Linked DNA regions of Homo sapiens: all the other regions are linked to region 2. The links are contacts of gene promoters, found by promoter capture Hi-C in blood cells and fetal thymus (Javierre and others, 2016). All regions are on one chromosome and are shown on one strand. Each heading gives the region's core, a stretch centred on a gene start or on the middle of the fragment in contact. The rest is flanking DNA. Distances are from core to core; before and after follow the strand shown.

What was found. Contacts are between HindIII fragments. The CHiCAGO score rates a contact against its expected background, and 5 or more counts as called.
Region 1: a contact is called between a fragment that was not itself captured here and the fragment with the promoter of RANBP17 in region 2, in 3 of 17 cell types (megakaryocytes, endothelial precursors and M0 macrophages). The highest score is 5.5, in megakaryocytes.
Region 3: a fragment that was not itself captured here is called in contact with the fragment with the promoter of RANBP17 in region 2 in 2 of 17 cell types (megakaryocytes and M2 macrophages); the score reaches 5.9 in megakaryocytes.

Annotation. Positions count from the first base shown.
Region 1 is chr5:171,196,995-171,199,856 of GRCh38, forward strand. It overlaps RANBP17 (RAN binding protein 17), which reads left to right. Exons shown (of 28, transcript NM_022897.5): 19 at 2,676-2,779. Among named protein-coding and RNA genes, the nearest start is that of TLX3, 110 kb to the right of the region's middle. The HindIII fragment of the contact is 988 bases long and covers 1,115-2,102 here.
Region 2 is chr5:170,860,652-170,863,647 of GRCh38, forward strand. It overlaps RANBP17 (RAN binding protein 17), which reads left to right and starts at 1,367. Exons shown (of 28, transcript NM_022897.5): 1 at 1,367-1,400. The coding sequence starts at 1,383. The HindIII fragment of the contact is 4,534 bases long and covers 724-2,996 here.
Region 3 is chr5:171,159,250-171,162,447 of GRCh38, forward strand. The region is part of intron 14 of RANBP17 (RAN binding protein 17); the gene reads left to right. Among named protein-coding and RNA genes, the nearest start is that of TLX3, 150 kb to the right of the region's middle. The HindIII fragment of the contact is 2,109 bases long and covers 857-2,965 here.

The DNA.
Region 1 (2,862 bases), core at 359-2,858, 340 kb after region 2:
CTAGCACCATTACATGCCTGCAGTGGTAGTTACCACTGTTCTCATTAATAATTCCACATTTAGAAAATACTTTATCTTAGAAGAGTAAGATTACATGGCTTAAGTATAATGAGCATATATTTTATGTATTTAGGATTTGATAATGTATATTTCAATTATTTATTGTATTATTCTATGTCAAGTGTTAAGAAAATAAAGATGTTCTAAAATTCACCTTAATTGAGAAATTACTTTTTATCTAAACACAGTATTTCCCTAATAATGCCAGGCTCTATTCTGTGCTAATACTATAGTGCTAGTATCACCACTAATATTTATTGAGCATCTTCTGTTTTCCATGTATTATAACATTTAATCTTCACAGTGACCCTCAATGATAAGTATTTTTATACTTATTTTATAGATGAGGAAACTGAGACTCAGAGTAATTAGTAAAATATCCAAAGGTAAATAATATACGGTAAAGTCAGACACCTGGACCTGTTTACTGCCGAGCCCTACATAATTCTCCTTCACTGAGAAACTCAAAGATACACAGTCTCAGTGCCATAGAAGCTAATCCGAAGATACTATCAGCGTAAGCTAGTAGAGCTAGTAATTTACATGTATACTTTATAAATTTTATCTCATTTAGTTCCCGCAGTAACCCTGATCAGATGGTAGTTGTGGTATAATGTAAGTGGTATTATTGTTGCTATTATTAGATGTATGCTTAAATATCTGCAATTCAAGGCAGACCGGTACAATAGTTAAGAGCCAGGCGGCCGGGCGCTGTGGCTCACATCTGTAATCCCAGCAATTTGGGAGGCCGAGGCGGGCGGATCACGAGGTCAGGAGATCAAGACCATCCTGGCTAACACGGTGAAACCCCATCTCTACTAAAAATACAAAAAAATTAGCCGGGCGTTGTGGCAGGCGCCTGTAGTCCTAGCAACTCAGGAGGCTGAGGCAGGAGAATGGCGTGAACCTGAGAGGCAGAGCTTGCAGTGAGCCAAGATCGTGCCACTGCACTCCAGCCTGGATGACAGAGCAAGACTCCGTCTCAAAACAAGCCAGGCAAAATGCTATGGGAATCCAAAGGGAGAAGGGAGATAACTTGATTGGGATTTAGGAAAGCTTAGCTTAGACATTGGGAAAGATATTATTTCACCTGGGCCTTGAAAAATAACATCTGTATAGGTCTATGTTATCACCAGTTAACAGAGAAGAGTGTATCTAAGAGGAGTCACTTGGTCACACAGCCAGTTGACAGAGAAGAGATTATAATTTGGTCTGCCTTACTCTTTACTCAGGATACTGACCTTCGTTTAGAACGGCACACCAGTAAAGATTTGTTGGCCCTTTGGCATCTGTTTGTAACAAAGCTAAGTCCCCAATTCTGTTGTACTCCTGAAACAATGTGAAATTGAAGGAAAGAGATAAATCACAGAAGATTAGAGTCAGCCAGATCAGCCACTCCTTAAGAGTCAAAAGATCTTGATCCTGCCAGGACCTCCGTTACTTTGTCTGAAAAATGACTATAGATGCCAGTGTTTTTCGAACATTCACAGGCATCTGAATCATCTGGAGGGCCTATTAAAACAAAATTGCTGGGACCCACCCCCAGAGTTTCTGATTCAATAGATATGGGATGGAACCTGGGCATTTACATCTCACAAGTTCACAAGTGATGTTGATGCTCCCAGGTCAAGGACCAAACTTTGAGGACCTTCTCTGAGCTCATTTCCTCTCTAATACTCTATTGAAAAACTCTACTGTTAGAATAGAAATTAGGAGGTCTGAACCATGTCGTTCCACCTCCAACTAAGTATTCCACCTTAAGCAAGACACTTAACCTTTCTCTGCCTGTTTCTTCAGTAGAGTGCAGCTCGTAGCTCCCTGTGACTTAGGATGAATGAGTGAATTCAATCTCTCATTTAAAAGAAACCCCTTTTGAAAAAGAATACTATATAAATTATCAATTGTGCATATCCATGTGTGAAGTGAAGATTCTGCTTTGACAGAATCCTTGAGGAAACTGCAGTCTACCTTTAAAGTAAAAAGTTAATAGGAAATGTCTCTTTTCCCTCTTCTCTATTTAAAAAAAAAGAGAAAAAAAAGGAAGCTTAGTGTAAGAAGTGTACCCATGGAGAATGTATTTAAAATCCAAATGACCCATAAGGGACCCCATCCTTTTTGGCAGATAAAAGTTTCCCTGCCATTTATTTGATAAATTAATTAAAAAGAACATAAATAAAAGAGAATAATAACTTAGAGCTATCTGGGCACCTGAGTCTTTGAGCCCTTTAGGGCCTTGGCACCCAAAGAGAAGGGGGAAAAAAAAAACACTGCGTCTCTGAGGCTTTGAAAGTGGTCTTCCTTGAGGCATTAGAGAAGCTCTAGGGGCCCTAGGAGCTAAAGGACTGAGATGCCTGGGGCATGAGTCTATTAGATCCACTAAAGAACCAGGAAAAAAAAAATGGCTGGTAAGTAATTTTGCTATTTCATTTGATGCAAAAGAGAAGGCACAACACCAGAATATTCAGTGAGCAAAAGTACAAAATGTGGCATGGATGTGAATGCAGGCTGACCCCTTCTCGGGAATATTTCTAAGCCTAAATGAAGCACTCAATGCTGAGGACAATGTACAATTCTATGCATTTTAAACCGTAGTGACCCTTTTGTTTCTCTGATAGGTGAAGATGAGGATGAATTTGAGAATTTCATGCTGCCTCTTACAGTTGCTTTTGAAACAGTATTACAAATATTCAACAACAACTTTAAACAAGAAGATGTAAAGGTGGGTTTGTTTCCAAATATGAGGAATGACAGTTTTGTTTTTTCTAGGATATCTAGATCCAGAAAAGGGCTTTGCATATCTGT
Region 2 (2,996 bases), core at 117-2,616:
ACAGAATAGAAATAAGGAATATAGCAAAAACTTATAACATACATGTAACTGGAGTTCCAGAATGGAGAGGTAGAGAGAGAGAAGGGGACAGATGCAATATTTAAAGAACTAGTGACCAAGATTTTTCAAAACTTGATAAAAAAGATTACATTCACACTTAAAGAGCTTTATGAATCCCAAGCAGGATAAATACAACACACACACACACACACACTTAGCGACATCAAGCACAAAGTGCTGAAGACAAAAAGAAAAAATAAAAAAAGAGAAAAATGTTCAAGTACCTGAGGAGGGGGCCAAAAGACAGGAGCAACAATTAGACTGATGGCTGATTTCTCAATAGAAACAATGACAAGCAGAAGACAATGAGAAGACATTTTTAAAATGCTGAAAGATTAAAAAAAAAGCCAATGTGAAATTCTATACCCAGCAAAACTATCCTTTAAAAAATGAAGGTGAATTAAGATGATTTTATGTTAACAAAAGCTGAGAGACTTTGTTGTTAGCAGACCTGAATACAAGAAGTGCTTAAGGGAGTTTCCCTCTTAAATACTACAGCACAGTGCTCCCAAATGGAAATGCTGAACTTGAAGAAAAAACGGAGAACATCAGAAAGCAGCAACTTTGACCCAATTCTGCTCCAATAAATTCTCATTGCAGTGGAATCATTTGTTGTAAAATATAAGTTCATATTAAACAAAATGCAGACAAAGAATGAGGTAAAGCTTGAATTTTACAACTTAACAGCATGTAGACATGGGCGGTTTAATTTTAACCAAAATCAAGTTAAAAACATTGTTAAGCAACAATGGAATTTGGGCCCTGGGAGTCAGGGGTCAAGGGCAACAGCTGGCATGTGGGAGTCAAAGGTTATGGCTGTGTGTGTCTGTGGTTCCTGGCTGTTAGGAGACAAGAAAATCTGTGGAGATGCAGGTGTCGGGAGCCATGGGCGATAGTTGTATTTTGAGGGTCAGGGGTCAAGAGAGCCTTTGGAAGACTTATGAGTCAGGGTCCACGGCTGACGGGTGGGTCGTGGTAGTTGTGTCAAAGGGCAGAGGTTGGAGGTCATGACCCACCAACACACGCCGGTTGAAACTTGAGCGCAAGGGACGGTTGAGATTCCCGGAGGACACGCCCCTATCGGCCCCGCCCCGTGCACCGCCTCCGTCGCCCCGCCCCGTCCCTCCCAGCCCCGCCCCGTCCCTCCCAGCCCCGCCCCTCCAGCGCTTCGAATGCGGACGCGAAGCCTGGCTGAGGCTGCGAAGGACGAGCGGCGCAGGGACCCCGCGGGCGTCTGGGGCTTCCGCGGCGCCCGCCTCTGCTCCCTCCCCTCGGGCGCTGGGTGCCGACCGGCCGGCTGGCCGGCGCCGCCTCCTGGGAAGATGGCGCTGCACTTCCAGGTCAGTGTGCTCTGCGCCGCGGGCCCGCGCTCCGCCACGCTGGGAACCCGGCGGGACGCGTCTGGAGACCGAGGGCCGAGGACAGCGGCGGAGGCCGCAGGGCCGTGGGCCGGTGTCCCCGGAGTCCCAGCCCCTGCCTCTGCCCCTAGCCGGGGACCGGGACACTGGTCTGGGCTGCACACCCCAGGCCCGGGCCGGAGCCCGAGAAAGGGGCGGCCGAGCCTGGGTTGGAGGCGGCGGGTGGAGGGGGCGGGGGACAGGCCCAGGGCTCGTCCCGGGGAAGGTGCGGACGCCGGCAGCACGCTCGCTGACCGCGGCTTTAGTGTTGCCAGGGCAGGTGGGAGTCCCAGCTGGGCCGGCTTTGGCGCGCCTCGCGCGGCTGCCGAGCGGTGGAGCAGCCTTCCCGCCTTCCCGCCGCGTCGCCGGCGCGGCTCTATCGTCAGCCTCCCTCCACACAGTTGAGCCCCAGCCGGAGCGGGGGCTTGGGATCCACCGAAGGAGCGGCGGCAGCGGTTGGACTTTAATTGGCCAGAGGAGACAGGGGCTGCGTCTGGGGGGAGTTGCGAGGGAGGGCTACGCGGCCGCCTCTTCGGAGGAGGAAACCCGGGCCGGGCGCGGGCGCGGGCGCGGACGCGAGGATCGCAGAGGCTACGAAGATGGGACGCGTGCTTGTATATCCTCGGGCTGCTCTGACATCCCCGTTCAGTTATTCAGCAAACATTTATTATCTCCCCACTGTGTCTCAAGCATTGTGGAAAGTTCTGGGGATAAAGGATGACATCTTACTATCCTCGCCCTCATACAGTTAACAGAGAATTACAGTACAAGTGAAAAATGTATGGTAGAAATAGTCACAGTATCATAGCACAGAAAAGGGGGTAGCCAGCCAAATGTGTATGTTGAGAAGGAGTGAAGCAGAGCTGCTATGCTCTTAGCTGAGAGATGCTTTAAGATTCTTTGAGCCTCCATTCTTCCATTTATTAATTATTGAGCGCCTACTATGCTAGGCGCTGAAGATACAACAGCTCTGAACAAAACTATGGTTTCTACTCTCAGGGAACTTGCAGTCTACTGGTCCTTGAAAGAGTCGTAGTTGTTTGCCAGGTGAAGAGGAAGGGAAGGATATGGAGGTAGAAGGACGTGTGAGCCAAGGCAAAGAATTGTGGAAGAACATGGTGTACTGCAGAAAGTTGAGTCTGGTTGGGACAAAGGGATGGGATCAGGGGAGGCAGTGGGTGGCAGGAGATGACCCCAGGGAGGGAAGGGAATTTCATAATATGGTGACAGTGTATCTAAGAATCTCATTCCCCTTGTAGACTCTTTTGAACCCCCTGTGATCACACTGATTTATAACTTGGCTGATTTATTGATTCTTCTAAAGGGTCTTTTTTTTAAAACCAGTTACTGTCTGATAATCGACAGTTCTAGAATGTTATGTAGTAAGCCCGACACATTACCTTTTGACTTCATGCCATTTCTAAGGGTCCTCAGGTCAAAATAATGTATTACCACTTTAGTAAATATGCCCTCTGGGAAATTTTCACAGGAAGAATCTTACAAGGAGGATTTATGGATTGTAAATAGGTAATCAGATGT
Region 3 (3,198 bases), core at 661-3,160, 300 kb after region 2:
CCAGGAATGATCAGTTTCAGAGTGTGTTGACTGATAATGCCAATATCATAAGTTTCATCTCCATACTAGCTGTTTTACTTCCCAAGGAAAAGACTCATTTCTTTAACTGAAGATTGGATGTCTAGTCCTGGCTCGCCATCAGTCACAAAAGAACTAAGCTAGATCCTTGATATTTTATGTCCTACAATAGGAGAAGCAACCTAGAACCAATAGTCTAGTGTCAGAGATCAGTAATATTATATTTATTTCTGAAAGGTAGCCCCTTTCTGTTCCCACTGTGAGAGAATGCCCCTTGGGAGCCCATCACCTAAAAACTCTTAATAATTTTAAACTAATGATAGTGTTCTGGACCCCCGTGTCTGTGTACATTAATTTAGTAAAGAAAATTTGGGCCGGGCACAGTGGCTCACGCCTATAATCCCAGCACTTTGGGAGGCTGAGGCAGGTGGATCACGAGGTCAGGAGATCAAGACCATCCTGGCTAACACGGTGAATCCTCGTCTCTACTAAAAAAATACAAAAACTTAGCTGGGCGTGGTGGCAGTCGCCTGTGGTCCCAGCTACTCGGGAGGCTGAGGCGGGAGAATGATGTGAACCCGGGAGGCAGAGCTTGCGGTGAGCCAGGATCATGCCACTCCAGCCTGGGCGACAGAGTGAGACTCCATCTCAAAAAAAAAAAAAAAAAAAAAAAAGAAAAAAGAAGAAAATTTGGACAATTGGATGGACCTATTGATCTGAATGGGGAAAACTTTGATAACTTATTGGACACAGTGATCATCTACTTACTCAGTGAGTTGAAAACTTACCTTGGAGATAGGAAGCAGGAACTTGTATTGACTCAAAAAATGAGGATGAAAGCTTTGAATCTGGCAATATAGGTGATGCAGATAAGTTCTTGAGATAAAATAACACCAAATACCACAGATCATTCTGTTTTTCTCCTGACTTTTTTTCTATCACTTTTCTTACTACTTTATTTCTTTGCAAGACTCAAAGACTAGACCCATTATTTAATATTAGAAGTTATGTTACCTTTCATTAAGACCCTCTCCCCTCTAACTACTACTAAAGCTACTCACATACCCACTTAGAACATATATCTGTTTTCTAGTATCTAGTCCAGATAAAGCACAAAGAAAAGAGACATTCCAATAAAAATAATAGGTAATACTTATGAAAATTTTACTGTATACCAGGACTGTTATAGGTCCTTCACATAAATTAACCATTTTAATCTCAAAAATTCCACAGATTAGGTACTACTCTCATCCTTTTTATATTTGAGGAAACTAAGGTTTAAAGGGTAAGCAACTTGCTCAAAATTACTTAGTAAGTGGCAGAATCTCACTAGTCTTGGGCTTCAGAATCTATTCCTAACCACTTCACTAGATTACCTCCTATTTTGTGATATTATACTTTGTAACCCTAGTTAAAAGATGTACTTTTGCCAATCAGAAGGTTACTTTGCCTGCTTAAGTCATTAGCCTCAGTTGCCACACTTCTATAATGAAAGTGCTTCATGGGAAACAGTACTAAGAGATTCTTTTTGGTTTTTTTTTTGAGATGAAGTCTCACTCTTGTCGCCCAGGCTAGAATGCAATGGAGCAGTCTCAGCTCACTGCAACCTCTGCCTCCTGGGTTCAAGTGATTCTCCTGCCTCAGCCTCCCAAGTTGCTGAGATTACAGGCGCGTGCCACCACGCCCTGCTAATTTTTTGTATTTTTAGTAGAAGTAGAAGCAGGGTTTCACCTTGTTGGCCAGGCTAGTCTGGAACTCAGGTGATCCACCCATCTCGGCCTCCTAAAGTGCTGGGATTACAGGCGTGAGCCACCGCGCCCGGCTGAGATTCTTAAAAATCATTCTGTCAAATATTATTTATGATTTATTCTTTTTTAGGGCTAGCTTTTAGTAACTGGTTTCTGGAATTATCTCACTGAAGCAATCCCATTGTCATTCATATAACCACATCCAGAATTTGAACAGGACTTCACCATGTCTCTGCTCATGGGCTCCAGAATAAAATCAAAGTCCCAAGAATATCATAAGTAACAACCACAAAGATTGTCAGCCACTTTCTCCTTTTATTTGAGATTGGGGAGGCCTTTTGCTCTTATTTCTGGTGCCAGGTGGCAGGTCCCTAAACTTTGTGCTTTTTAGGTTGTACGCCTGAGGAGTGATGTACCCAGAGTTCCAGAGAAGGCTTGGAAAATAGTTAAGGTGAGTTGGGTTGCTGGTTATGATGGTGGACCAGCAATCTTTATGCTTGTCTCACTACAGCCTCAGATTCTAATTAGTAAAACAGGCATATGCATACAATGATTAAGTGTAGGCATGCATTGTCTTCATTCCCTTTTTATGCATTATATAATTCTACAATGTTCATATTTTATAGCCAAAGGTTTAGTAGTCCACTAATAAGCAGTATTAGCTGCAAAGCCTATATTTAATGTGGTTGCATAGTACAAAAGCATCCTAGATTTCTTGATGCTAACATTGCTGAGTAACCAATTATAATCAGTTATTAATACTTAAGAAAGTTTTATTTGGCTACATTGAATAGCATCTGTTATTGAACAGTGTCTAGAGCACATGTATCCCTTGTGTCAGAATGTGTTTCTGGCTGACACCTTTAGGAGGTACGGGGGATTAAACAAAATATTTTACTTCCCAGTTCCCCACCTCTGCTATCACCCTCTCACAAACTTCATCCAGCATCAGCTTCTTTGCCCTAAAATTTAATCGTCATCTTATAAACTTGCTATTGCAAAGAATTATAAATATTCCTTTAACTGTCTGAAATGCTCTTTCAAACCATGGTCCCAAAATCCTCTACTAAAATTAAGCCTTCTTCCCAAGCATCTGGTGCCATAGCCATAGTTAGCTTCTTTTTGAATGGGCTTGGGGAGATAATATATTTACCCAGGGCTTTACCATGGCTTTATCCATAGAAGACTAGTTTAACAGAAGCTTGGCCCCAGACATGGAGTGAATTGGCAGCCAACAGGAGCAAAGCTGTGTCAGGACAAATGTACACTCTCCATTTTCTCTGGTTGGCTTTCAGCTGGTTGCACCACAGGAGTCTTTCTGTGGACTGCATATCCTGTGACCAGTAACTGGTGCACTCAACCCAGGTCCCTCTTGGCTAGGGAAGGCCTGTCGGGAGGCATTAGGTTCATGCTGGTGGAGATCCTTAGTCAG